Regions from separate parts of the Homo sapiens genome. Here region 1 is linked to region 2. Evidence: promoter capture Hi-C in 16 types of primary human blood cells and fetal thymus (Javierre and others, 2016). All regions are on one chromosome and are shown on one strand. Each heading gives the region's core, a stretch centred on a gene start or on the middle of the fragment in contact. The rest is flanking DNA. Distances are from core to core; before and after follow the strand shown.

Evidence for each region. Contacts are between HindIII fragments. The CHiCAGO score rates a contact against its expected background, and 5 or more counts as called.
Region 1: a contact is called between the fragment with the promoter of ALCAM here and the fragment with the promoter of CMSS1 in region 2, in 1 of 17 cell types (naive CD4 T cells). The highest score is 5.2, in naive CD4 T cells.

Annotation. Positions count from the first base shown.
Region 1 is chr3:105,363,453-105,369,538 of GRCh38, forward strand. ALCAM (activated leukocyte cell adhesion molecule) reads left to right here and starts at 3,457. Exons shown (of 16, transcript NM_001627.4): 1 at 3,457-4,029. The coding sequence starts at 3,957. RefSeq lists silencers at 3,402-3,501, 3,832-3,951 and enhancers at 4,982-5,141, 5,478-5,978, 5,979-6,086. The HindIII fragment of the contact is 2,798 bases long and covers 1,768-4,565 here.
Region 2 is chr3:99,815,466-99,822,073 of GRCh38, forward strand. It overlaps CMSS1 (cms1 ribosomal small subunit homolog), which reads left to right and starts at 2,397. Exons shown (of 10, transcript NM_032359.4): 1 at 2,397-2,578. The coding sequence starts at 2,515. HP09053 (a long non-coding RNA gene) reads right to left here. Exons shown (of 3, transcript NR_110821.1): 2 at 3,455-3,509; 3 at 1,167-3,007. LOC105374010 (a long non-coding RNA gene) reads left to right here and starts at 2,397. Exons shown (of 5, transcript NR_189163.1): 1 at 2,397-2,578. RefSeq lists a silencer at 2,078-2,832 and enhancers at 2,248-3,122, 2,354-2,663. The HindIII fragment of the contact is 550 bases long and covers 2,259-2,808 here.

The DNA.
Region 1 (6,086 bases), core at 2,207-4,706, 5.5 Mb after region 2:
AAAACTATCTTTGTTGAAATTTCATCTCCAGTGGAAATTTTGGCGGTGCTAATCAGGGGAGAAAAACTACTTCCATTCTTCAAAGGCACACACAATTGACTCGGCTATGTTGTCACATACTGATGGGATTAATATTTTAGTACAGGGAAGGGGTCCTGGCCTGAGCCTTGGGAATCCTGAGTCCTTATCTCAACAGACCGTAAGTAGGAAACTTGCCTCCGGTACCATGTCACTGCTTTTGAGCATATCATCCTGATTGATGATGAATTCCTTTATACTTAAAATACAAAGCTCTTCTCATGTCCCAGGTAACGTGAAATTTTTTCCCCCTGGATAAATGTTATTCATTTTTCCCTTTCAGCAAGATGTACCCTTATGATTCTCTGATGCATGACTAAACTATACAATAAATATTATTGGAATACTATGTATTCTCAATTGTAACAAAAGTGACTGTGATCTACATGTAGCTGGAAACACTCTTCCTCTCAAGAATTAGGTAAGATGGATCCAATCCCACATTGACTAGATTTTGAAAGATTAATTCGATTACATTACTTTGTGGAGCTTACATTTTTATGTTTATTTCTAACTCTGAGCTCTTGCTTATGCTACATTATTTCAGTTTAGAAGTGGTCTTGTCATCTCATATGCACTGTATCTGGCCTACGCAGATAGGGTGCGCTGCTTTATTAATAAATTTCCTTAATGAAAATGTGTGTGAAAGGATGAGAGAACTTATGTTTAAATCAATCGCCCCACCAAAAAAACCATACATTTATTGCTACGCATTCTTGATAAGCAAAGTGGATAGTGATGAGCAAAGTAGATAGGAATTCAGTTCAAGAATCAGAATGCCTGGGTAGAACCCTGGCTTTACCATTGCTATGAATCATTGTGTGACCTTGGAAAAGTTGCTTCGAGTCTCTGGGTTTCAGTTTCTTCATGAGTAAAATGAGGATGAAAATAGCAACTCCTTCAATAAATTTTTATGAGGGGAATACATCTATTAATTCATATAAATTGCTTAGAATATTCTAACATGTAAGTGTTGCTAATTAATAGATCTAAAGACCTTTGAACATTTCTAAACTCATGCTTTGTATTGTTGCCTTCGTCCCCACTCCCAGGCCAAATTTCTATTTTCATGGTTATTATTTTGTTTAATATAGAGCCGTTTCACCATTTTTTTTTAATGACCAATAGCCTTTGGAGTTACTAGTCCAAGTGGCTTATCAAGGCATTTTCCTAAACTAGGACACATTCCTTTCTAAAAACAATTCTGGAAGCAGTGGACTACACATTCAAATATATATTATACATATGCCCATATATATATGCATGTGTTTGTGTATAAGTATAATATGTACATATTTGTATAGTCAGTTGCTCCCAGAATTCCACGTGTGTGTTTGTGTGTTTGATCTCATTTGATCTTCACAGCAATCCCATGAGGCTAGCACTATTATCACTTTTTACAAGAAAGGAGACTGAAGCTTAAAGAGGTTAAGTGAGTTGACCAAGATCATACAGTTAGTGTCAGAGCCCAAATCAGTCTTCCTTTTGCAAATCTACCTTTAAGCAATTATGCTGTATTAACTCCCATCGTAAAATAGAGGAGATCAGATAGAGCGTTCGCGGACCTAGGTTAAATATATTGTCAGGTCGATTTATTCTAATACACCCCACTTACAACCACAGTGAAAAAGAAAACAATTCCCTAAAGCAATTCTACAGGAGTCCATGGAAATGCTAGCATTTCAGCCAAGCTTAGCTCAAGGAATATAGAGTTAAAAGGCATTTGCCTCCTAGCGATAGCCTTCCTGTTGATTCATAAGATGCAAATGAAATGTTAATGTTTAAACCAAGTGGGAGAAACTACTTATTTTGAGAGGAAAAAAATATGGTATAAAAGCTCTACTCTAGAATATTGTTAATGTAAGGAGAACTGGAAGAACAGGACAAGCAGGCTTTTGAGAAAAATCACAGCTGAAGATAGGGCTTAATAGTTTAGAGCACTAAAAGATAAACAATTTTAAAAATCAGTGTGTGAGTGTGTGTGTGTGTGTGTGTGTCTGTGTGTTGCGAGTCTCCAATCTCGCTGGTAACTCGCAGTTTTCTGATGAAAGTGCAGTATGTAACGATTACTAGTTGGCATCCTCTGCTGGAGACCAGTCTCACAAAAGGGTGACCCTGTGATGCACGAAAGGCTATTTAATGCCCCAGCGAAGTGCTTCAGGGACCAAGATTTTATTATTCTTTGGTGATGAGAGTTGTGATCCTGCATCCCTGATTTAGAGCCACTTAGGGCTCCGACAGCTCCACCCCGGTGTTCTAGAGGAAAATCTTCCTTCATGCTCTCTGCCTGATTTGAAAGCAACACAGCTTCCCGATGTTCCTCCTGGGAGGTGGTTCAATCTTTAGAAATTGCCTAAGAAGCCTGTCCATCTGCTGGAGTGCCTGGCTTTCGGGAACGGACCAAGACGGACTTGGCTTTTAATCTGAAATAATTTGAGGATTTTCTGTCTATAACTTAAAATCACCGCTTAACTCAAAGTAAAAAAGTGACACGCTCTCTAGAGGGCTTTTGTAGACATTGGGAAAATCCGTATGACGAAGTACGGTTTAGAAATTCCGGATTTAATTTCCCCCGGGAAAAGCAAATATCTTCTGTTGGTACCGGGCAGTCGACTCACGTAGTCTTCCTTTAAAACCAAGTCTATGCCAGCCGGGTGTGAGGGGAGTGGTGGGGGTGAGCAGGGGGAGGAGAGAGATTCGAAAAGTACAGGAGGAATCAGTCCAGTACAGGGGTTGCCCCTGCCAACAAGTAGCTATTCCTGTTAACTCCCAAGAAGCAAGTTTCCACCTTTGCCACTTCCTCCTGCCCTTTCCTTTCCTTTTCCCTTCACTCCCGCTCTTGGACCCAAGGTTCGCTCCCCACCGCCACCGCCCTGCCCCACTATTCTCTTTACAGGACAGAAGGCTGCAGCAGCACGGCGGAGAAAAATCTCTGAGGAATGAGTCAGTGGGATGGGCGTATGGGTGGAGGGAGAGGGCAGTCGATTTTTAAACCTCAGCGAGGGTGGGTGGGCAGTTGGAAGCCAGAGGCCTTATCACTGGGGCGCTGCAACATCACAGAAAGTGTTAGTCCCAGGGCTCTCCCTGGCGCGCGCGGCTCCTGTGCTTGCTTCTTATTGGCGGACCTGGCCCTGGGGGCGGAGCCGCGGTGAAGCACCGCTCATCCGGGCTCCAGGACCGGGGCACGCGGTTCTCCCTGATCCCGGAGCTGGGCTCAGGGCTCGGACTCAGTCCTGCAGCGCCTCTAGGCTGCGGATCCGCGCTTCAACCACCTGCTTTGCGCTGCGTCCGGGGAAGTGGGGAGGAGACGGGAGGGAGGGAGGAGGCGGGGAGAGGAGGAAAGAGGCAGCTTACACACGCCTTCCAGTCCCTCTACTCAGAGCAGCCCGGAGACCGCTGCCGCCGCTGCCGCTGCTACCACCGCTGCCACCTGAGGAGACCCGCCGCCCCCCCGTCGCCGCCTCCTGCGAGTCCTTCTTAGCACCTGGCGTTTCATGCACATTGCCACTGCCATTATTATTATCATTCCAATACAAGGAAAATAAAAGAAGATACCAGCGAAAAGAACCGCTTACACCTTTCCGAATTACTCAAGTGTCTCCTGGAAACAGAGGGTCGTTGTCCCCGGAGGAGCAGCCGAAGGGCCCGTGGGCTGGTGTTGACCGGGAGGGAGGAGGAGTTGGGGGCATTGCGTGGTGGAAAGTTGCGTGCGGCAGAGAACCGAAGGTGCAGCGCCACAGCCCAGGGGACGGTGTGTCTGGGAGAAGACGCTGCCCCTGCGTCGGGACCCGCCAGCGCGCGGGCACCGCGGGGCCCGGGACGACGCCCCCTCCTGCGGCGTGGACTCCGTCAGTGGCCCACCAAGAAGGAGGAGGAATATGGAATCCAAGGGGGCCAGTTCCTGCCGTCTGCTCTTCTGCCTCTTGATCTCCGCCACCGTCTTCAGGCCAGGTGAGCAAGGGCCTGGGAGCAGCCCCAGACAGACGTGGGCCTGGAGCAGTTTCCTAGGTCCCCGTCCCAGCCTCGCACCCCCGAGGCAGTGCGCCCAGGCGCGTGGTGGAGGTAAGGGGACCGCTGTCCTGGCACAGAGCTGTCCCCGGGCTCGGTCACCTGTGCCGCACGTTTGGGCTTGGCTGGTTAGCTCAAGTTTGGGCATCAAGCTGGGGAAACTGGGTGAATCTCCAGGAACTTGGTGCTCCGGGGTGGGCAGGATTCGCCTGACGCTCTCCCCTTGTCCCTGCGGCTCCCAGCTAGGCGGCGGACTCTTGCCCTCTGACAGTTCCTCCTGTCTCTGGGTATCCAAGTCCACGTCACTGCGCCCCGAGCAGTTTTTCTTTCGCTTAGTTCTCGGATGAAATAACTGCCGGCACTTTTTCGTGATAAATCCCCTAGTAACTTCCCCTTGGTGAGCCGAGGAAGGGATGGGAGGGGTAGAGAAGGAGAGGACTTTAATCACCTCCCCCCGCCCCCCTTGCGAAACCTGCTAAAGCTTAAAATCGTGGTTTCAACGTTACCCCCTGCGGTCCCCGTCCATTGTCTGGGCGGGTGGTGAGTGAAAGGGTGACCGCAGGCAGATAACACAGCCAGAACAGGAATTAGTAGGTAGGCCTGGGAGACACCTCAGTGAGAGGTTTGTGAATTTCCAGGACCTGCTCATAGAGCCTCAGTTCTCAGTTCTGTACTGAGTCTTGGAAGAGAGAGAGAGAGAGAGAGAGAGAGAGAGAGAGAGAGAGAAAAGGCAAAATTCCCAACAACTAAAATATCTCTCGGGAAATCCCTTTCCACACCCTCGGGGACGTCCCCTGGCCCTGGTATCCTCAGGCCCGCCTGGCGGCTGACACAAGTTGTTCTAACAGGGTATTCCGTGCGCTCACAGTTGCCTGACAGAGCAGCAGGTTCCTTTGCTCCCCTAAACTGAAAATTTAGGGGATTTTTTTTTCTTTGAAGTTTTTTTTTTCTATCCCTGCGTAGACAGTTGCCAGTTAAACTCCTACTTCCTGGTATTTTGGCCTGTTTGTTCTTAGCTTTTTCTTTAGCTTTTATCAAAGAAAAATCTCACTTCCTTTTATCCGTGCACATCCCTTCAGCTGTCGGCAAGCTCAGGTCACAGAAGAGGTTTGAAAGCCTCTGAATCTCTCCCAGGAACTGGCGGGGAGAGGGGTTTGGGGGCCAGAGCCTGAGGAAGAGATTACAAGTGTTTGCGAGCTGCTGCTGCTGCTGCCGTTGCTGTGTGTGTGGGCGGGAGGAGTGCCCTCTCCAGATCTCTTTATTAAAGTTACATTTCTGGGTGAGGTAATGAGCTCACCTGATGTTTCTGAGGCTGAGGGAAAAAAAAGGCGTCTGCGTTCTCTGACAAATCTCGGGCTCTGGGGCGGGGACTGTGAAACCATAGTTCAACCGGATTTAAAGCAGGTGTCCTAGTGTAACAACGCTGGGGAGGTAGGTGGAAAGGCGAGACCCCCTTGGGCCTGGCACAGTGTGGATTTCACTTTTTCGAGATTCCACTGTCCGATGGAGGAAAGGACACTTTGGAGCCAGGGAATGAGCCAAGAAGGGAGGACAAGGGTGATGTCGGTTTGTAACATGCAAACGTCCACACGCCCACAGTTGGTTTTCCGATTAACCCCCTCGAGACTTGGAGAATGTAATCTCACCCTCGTCCACACCCCTGACACAGGCACATAACCAGTTTCCTTTTCGGTGCCGTCACAGGCGGGCCACGTCGCAGGATAGGTTTTTCTACACATTTAACTGCTAAAAGGGGGAAAGTTCCGCTTTCAGACCTCCTTCACGGTGGTTCTTTTGGCGCCACAGGCTCGTGTGTCCAGGGGGCACCGAGCTGCGCGCTTTCGGCGAGCGGCTAGCCCCGGCTCACCGCAACCAGCCACCGTGAATCTGAGGATCCGATATCGGCCCTGGACCCTCAGATCCGTGGTTTCGGTGAATTACCGAGCTGGCATTGCCGAAATTCTCATTGCAGTATCAGTGTGTTTTGAAAGGAAAGGTTA
Region 2 (6,608 bases), core at 1,147-3,646:
ATCCATTGTCAAGTGCTACCTCCCAGTTCGCCCCATTGGGAAATGAATGCTTCCTCCTTTAAACTCTAATAATACTCATTCAGATACTGAACAGTAAGAGGGAGCAGAAAAAGACCTAATAGTTATTTCAGCCTGAGCTTCCCTGTGTTAGATGATATGATCAGATACTGGAGAGTACGGTTTTACAATACACTGATTTATAAACCAGGATGCCTATTCACTAATAACCAATTCACTAATAACAGAACAAACAGAACAGAAATGGATGCTACAACTTAGGTTGGCTATTCAATATAATCTGGGGTCAGTAAACTTTTTTCTGTAAAGTTAGAGCAAATATATGAGGGAATAGTAATAAATAGTAAATATATGAGGGCTACAGTCTCTGCTGCATATTTTTCTTTACGTTTTTGTTGTTGTCGTTGTTGTTTTGTTCTGTTTCTTACAATGCTTTAAAAATGTAAAAAATGGCTGGACACAGTGGCTTAGGCCTCTAATACCAACACTTTGGCAGGCTGGAGTGGGAGGACTGCTTGAAGCCAGGTGTTAAAGACCAGCCTGGGCAGCAAAATGAGACGCCATATCTACAAAAAACAAAAACAACAACAAAATAACCAAGAATGGTGGCATGTGCCTGTAGTCCCAGCTACTCGGGAGGCTGAGGCGAGGTGGAATATAATGTAAGACCATTCATAGTTCATGGTACAAAACAGGTATCAATTCCCATTAATGCATAGACACTCCATAATTTAGTATTGCCAGACTTCTTTTTTTTTTTTTTTTTTTTTTTTTTGAGACCGAGTTTCGCTTTTGTCAACCAGGCTGGAGTGTAATGGCACCATCTCGGCTCACCGCAACCTCCACTTCCCGGGTTTAAGCAATTCGCCTACCTCAGACTCTCAAGTAGCTGGAATTACAGGCGCCTGCCACCATGCCCGGCTAATTTTTGTATTTTTAGTAGAGATGGGTTTCGCCATTTTGGCCAGGCTGGTCTGGAATTCTTGACCTCAGGTGATTCACCCACCTCGGCCTCCCAAAGCGTTGGGATTACAGGCTTGAGCCACCGCGCCCGGCCCATACTTCTTAATTTTGTGATTTATTGCCTGAAAAACGGTCTCGCTGTGGTGTTTTTTTTGTATTTCCCAGATTAATAATCAGACTGAATTCTTTTCATGTTTATTAGCCATAGCAACTCCTCTTCCACACTGGCATTTCTTATCTTTTTCAAAAATCTATTAATCACGAAAATCTCGTCATCTACATTTCTTCACAAAAGCCATATTACTTTTGATCTTTATAGATTATTTTACATTTGCCATATTTATACATAATATCTTCCCTTTTGGGGCATTTAGAGTGTGCGGACAAAGTCTAGGCAGTAATGCATTTATAAAACATCTATGAGTTGGGTGCACACGGGGTAATTTTCCACATATGGCTAATCCTAGCCTCATCAGATTAAGTTTCCCTGTCTTGTCATTTCCGAGGATGTATCCTATTAGAAGTCTAGCCCTTTATTCCTACAAATTGAATTTCCACTACTGTAGGCTAACATCTGAATGGACTCATCTTACTATTCCATGCATAGTACCAGGCACGTTGCGTGCTTTTACTACATTTTGTATAATTTTTACGTCTGTGTTTGATGTCCTGAAAAATACCGTCCACAATTACTTCACAGCTAGCCCCAGCACTTGGCGCCCAGCGGGTTTTCCTAGTCCCTCCCTGCCAAATCACGTTGGGACTGAGACAAGAGGCACTGCGGGTCTCTTACCTATAGTTACGAAGCAATGGACTCCCTTATTACTTCGTTTCCCAAATAGGGGGTGGGACACACAACCGAGGGAGTATGAGGAAAACAACTTGCGGGTCTTCGAGCCACTTGCGTCTTTCTGTGGGCGAGCCTTTCCAGGCCAATTACATTTTCTTTACTCATATTGCATAAATAGCAGAACTACATTTACCACAAAGGCCCGACATTCATGGTCATGGATCCTTGCGCATGTTTTCTAAGAGCAAACTGTACAAACACATAAACTCTGAAACACTGACGCACAAGCGAAAACACACGCACATGTTTGGGTCTTCTCCCGCTGCGCAAGTTCTTTGAAACTGAGCGGAGAAAAATCGTCTTCACATGGTGTCTCACACTTTCGACACAATCTTATCGGGAAACGTAACACGTAAACAAAATTTTTTAAAATGCATTATCAAAAACGATGACAATCCCTTTCGTCTTATGTTCCTTTTTGTCTTTAAGCTTTGGGGGGATTTATGTTGCGTTTCCAAACTGCTTCTGCCTGTCGGCGCCTGTGTGGAAACTGCGACGAGTCTGGGAGCGGCTGCCGGAGAGGCGGGGCAGAGGTGTGACGTCATCGCCGCGGGGCGGAGGCGACAGTGTCTAGCGGGAGCTCCGCGTGTAGCTACGCCGGCCGCCTGGCTTTGAGACAACGTGATTCTCCGCAGCTGGTCGCCTACCCGTGATGTTCTGCCCACGTCGAGACCTGAGCTGAAATGGCAGACGATCTCGGAGACGAGTGGTGGGAGAACCAGCCGACTGGAGCAGGCAGCAGCCCAGGTACCCACTCTGTGCCCGCGCTCCTACGGGGCCTCTCCCGGAGCCCTTCCGTGCGCCTCAGCCCTGGTCGCTTCTGGCGATCGCGGTGTTTGCCCAGCAGGGGTGTGCACCGCCTTGGGAGCGCGCAAGCATCTCGGGGAAAATGGTGCAAGAGATTCTTTAACACGTGAAACAGACAGCTGTGACATTAACTCAGATCTGTCTGCCAGCCAGGAAGGATCCTTTCCACAAGCTTTCTCTTTTCCTTATTTCTTGAGAATGGATAAGACAGTTTTTGTGAAGAGAGGCAACTTTGTATGATGGTTAAGGGTGACCCATGAACTGCTTTCAATTCAGACTGAGGTCAGAAGCAGGGGTTGCTGCTTCAGACTCCCTCCATTCAAATCACGACTCCAGTATTCTGATACTGTTTAGCCTCCTTTTCCTCATCTGTAAAATAATGATAACAATAATGTCCATTTCGTAAAGTTGTGAAGATTAAGTGAAGTTAGTACAGTAATGCACTTTAGCATAGTGCTTGACATATAATGTGTGGTAAATATAAGTTACTGTATTTCTTGTGGTCATCATCATTATCATGGAATTTGGAATAGTAGAACTGGAAGGAGGCTTAAATAGAGATCATCCTTTGAACTCACTTATTTTACAGATGAGAAACATAACCTAAAGATGTCAAGTAACTTGACAAGTTCACAAAGCTAGCTCCTTTCAGAAACAATACTAGAATTCAGTTAACACAATTTGAATAGTTTCTACTATGCTCTGCTGTGTTTACCAACTCCTGATGCAGTGGGCATTTCATCCCCAAGTAGAGTAGCGTTAAGTGACCCCCCATGTCAGGCTAGCCTTGAACTTTTTAAGTTCCATCACACCTACCATGCAATTATTGGTTGGTTGGTTTTTATCACTCCTCAAGGTCTGCCTCTTTTCTCTACAAGAGAAGACAGGGCCAAAGTCAGATTCATACTTCTGTCATCCACAGGGCCCTGCACATGTTAGACACTTGATACCTATTTGCTGCAAACAATCTTGAAATACTAGTTGTGAAATATCCATTAAAAATAACCAACTTCATTTGTTGCATTGTTTCCGGAAGGTCAAGCCTTCAGGTACAAACTAAGCAGATGTCATTTTTAGAAAGGTAGCCAATACAACATTTCCTTGATTAAACTTCCTGACTCTTTTGCAGCCCTGTGGTGTTCCACATTTACTTTAATAACTACCCCTCCCAACTCAGGTGTTAAAAAGCTCTATTTTATGATATGATTGAAGATGAACAGAGGCCATTTAAGAAATAGTTGAATTCTGTTTGAGTGGTGAAGGGGATCCCAATTCTTGGTTCTAGTCCTCACTAGCTGTGTGACTTTCAAGTTATTCATCCGTTGGAAGAAAGGCAGTCAACATGTATTGAGTATCTATTATGTGACAAATGTCTTCATAAATATGAATTGATTTAACTTTCATAACATCCCGAAAAGGTAAGTATTCTCTTCATTTGTATAGGTGAAGAAACAGAAAAAAGTTAAGTCGTGTTCTTAGGAACACACATTGAAGAAGAGGTCTGGGAAGAGTTTAGTCAAGTGTGATTGATTTTGAAAGTCACGCTTTTCCCGCTACTACTTTGTGACTTCTCTGGGCCTTTGTATCATAATCTGTAAAGAGCCCTTAAAGATCATCTTTTTTAGGGTTTTACCAACCAACAGTTTTTTTTTTCTTTTTTTTTTTTTTTGACACGGAGTCTCCCTCTGTCGCCCAGGCTGGAGTGCAGTGGCACGATCTCGGCTCACTGCAACCTCTGCCTCCTGGGTTCAAGCGATTCTCCTGCCTCAGCCTCCCAAGTAACTGGGATTACAGGTGCCCGCCACCACACCCAGCTAATTTTTGTATTTTTAGTAGAGACGGGGTTTCACCATGTTGGCCAGGCTGGTCTTGATCTCTTGACCTCGTGATCTGCCCACCTCGGCCTCCCAAAGTGCTGGGATTACAGGCGTGAGCCACCGTGCCTGGCCCCCAACAGTTTTAAACACTGAATCTAGTAAAACTTTAAATCGCTACAGCCTCCTTCATCTAAGTTGCCAGAATTCTCATGAAGACAGTGTGTTGGAGTGCCTAAGATTGCTCTACTTCTTACATTCCTTCTAGCCATAAGACTAACCCTTTTTTTTTTTTTGAGACGAAGTCTCACTCTTGTCCCCCAGTCTGGAGTACAGTGGTGCGATCTCAGTTCACTGCAACCTCCACCTCCTGGGTTCAAGCGATTCTCCTGCCTCAGCCTCCCGAGTAGTTGGGATTACAGGAGCCTGCCACCACCCCCAGCTAATTTTTGTATTTTTAGTAGAGATGGGGTTTCACCATGTTGGCCAGGCTGGTCTTGAGCTCCTGACCTGAAGTGATCTGCTCGCCTTGGCCTCCCAAAGTGCTGGGATTACAGGTGTGAATCACCGCACCCGGCCAAGACTAAGCTTTGAAAATTGCTGGCATTAAATTTATCAGAGGCCTTTGCTTTGTTCGCTGCTCTTAAGCAAAGTAAGTATATGCCTTTATTTGAAATATCCTTGATTATTCACTGGCAATTTGCCTAATTGTAATCTGTACAGCGTTTCTAATTCAAAAGAAATCACAGCTGAACCACAGATTTCCTGATTCTTCTTTTGTTGATGGGATCTAGCCTTGATCCTAGAGCACAAGGCTTACTTACCTGGCTGCCTTCTTGAAGTCTTTACTTAAGTTATTTGATAGGGATGTCAAATGTATTCAATTGTTGTTTCAGCCTAAAGTATGTGAATTATGTTTTGTTTTGAAAGTTGAAGGAGAAATAATATGTTAAATCAGAGAAAGGAAAGATAGTTGTATTGGTGCTTTTATTCCTGTTGTGGATTATGCTACCTGCCTATAAAAATAAACATTTTTGCTATAATCTGTTCCCACTTGACATCCATGGTAGCAAGGCAGTGGAAGATTTCAGTCACTTACAAATACTTGTTGGTTGTACATGGTTTATAACATCTATCTAATGTGCCTATCTGTTTGTTGTCTGTCTAAGGAACTGTACTATTTTTTGGCTGTTATCATGTCTTCTTAGATGTGGTATGTAACAAAGTTTTCATGGCTCTTTAAAACCTGTCATTTTTGTGCTAGAGTTCTACATTGCACTGGAGCTCAACATGGGACCTGGCACTTAATTGGTGTTTGGTGGATGTTGGCAGAATAAATATATGTGTGTATGCGTGTTACCTGCTACAGAGTATGTAGGCAGACATATAATTTCTCATCCAATCTAGACACTTTTGTGAGTGGAAGGCTATGCAATTAGAATTTTGCAGGGACTCTCCTGGTCCTTAAGGGATGTCTAGTCACTCCATTGGTGGCAATTGGAGTCATGGCCCAACATAAGACAGCTGGGAGTTACAGTGCTGAGTGTGCAGCCCAGGATGCCTTAGGCATAAGACCCCAGGAATCATCTAATGGCATCTAATATTTGATTTATTTCCTTATTCCCTGTAAACCTTCAGCAACTGTTTGAAGTGACTTATAGTAAGTAATACATTCAGTAGAATAATGATGTGAAAATATTAATGCTGAAATGAGCAAACACAATGCCTGAGATTTTAATGTAGTTGACCGGTCTGGGTACTTTCTCAGTGTGAAGCTGAAAACTGAGAGAATGTCAATCACAGCATGGATTTCGTGACTTAAGGAAGAGAGCCAAGGGATTCTGCAGTTGAAAATGTCACTTGAGGGCCTGTAATCCCAGCACTTTGGGAGGCCAAGGTGGGCAGATCACCTGAGTCCAGGAGTTTGAGACCAGCCTGGCCAACATGGAGAAAACCTGTCTCTACTAAAAAGACAAAAATTAGCCAGGTGTGGTAGCAGGCACTTGTAGTCCCAGCTACTCAGGAGGCTGAGGCAGGAGTATTGCTTGAACCCAGGAGGTGGAGCTTGCGACGAGCCAAGATCGCACCACTGCACTCCAGCCTGTGCTACAGACTGAGACTCTGTCTCAAAAAAAAGAAAAAAGAAAATGTTACTT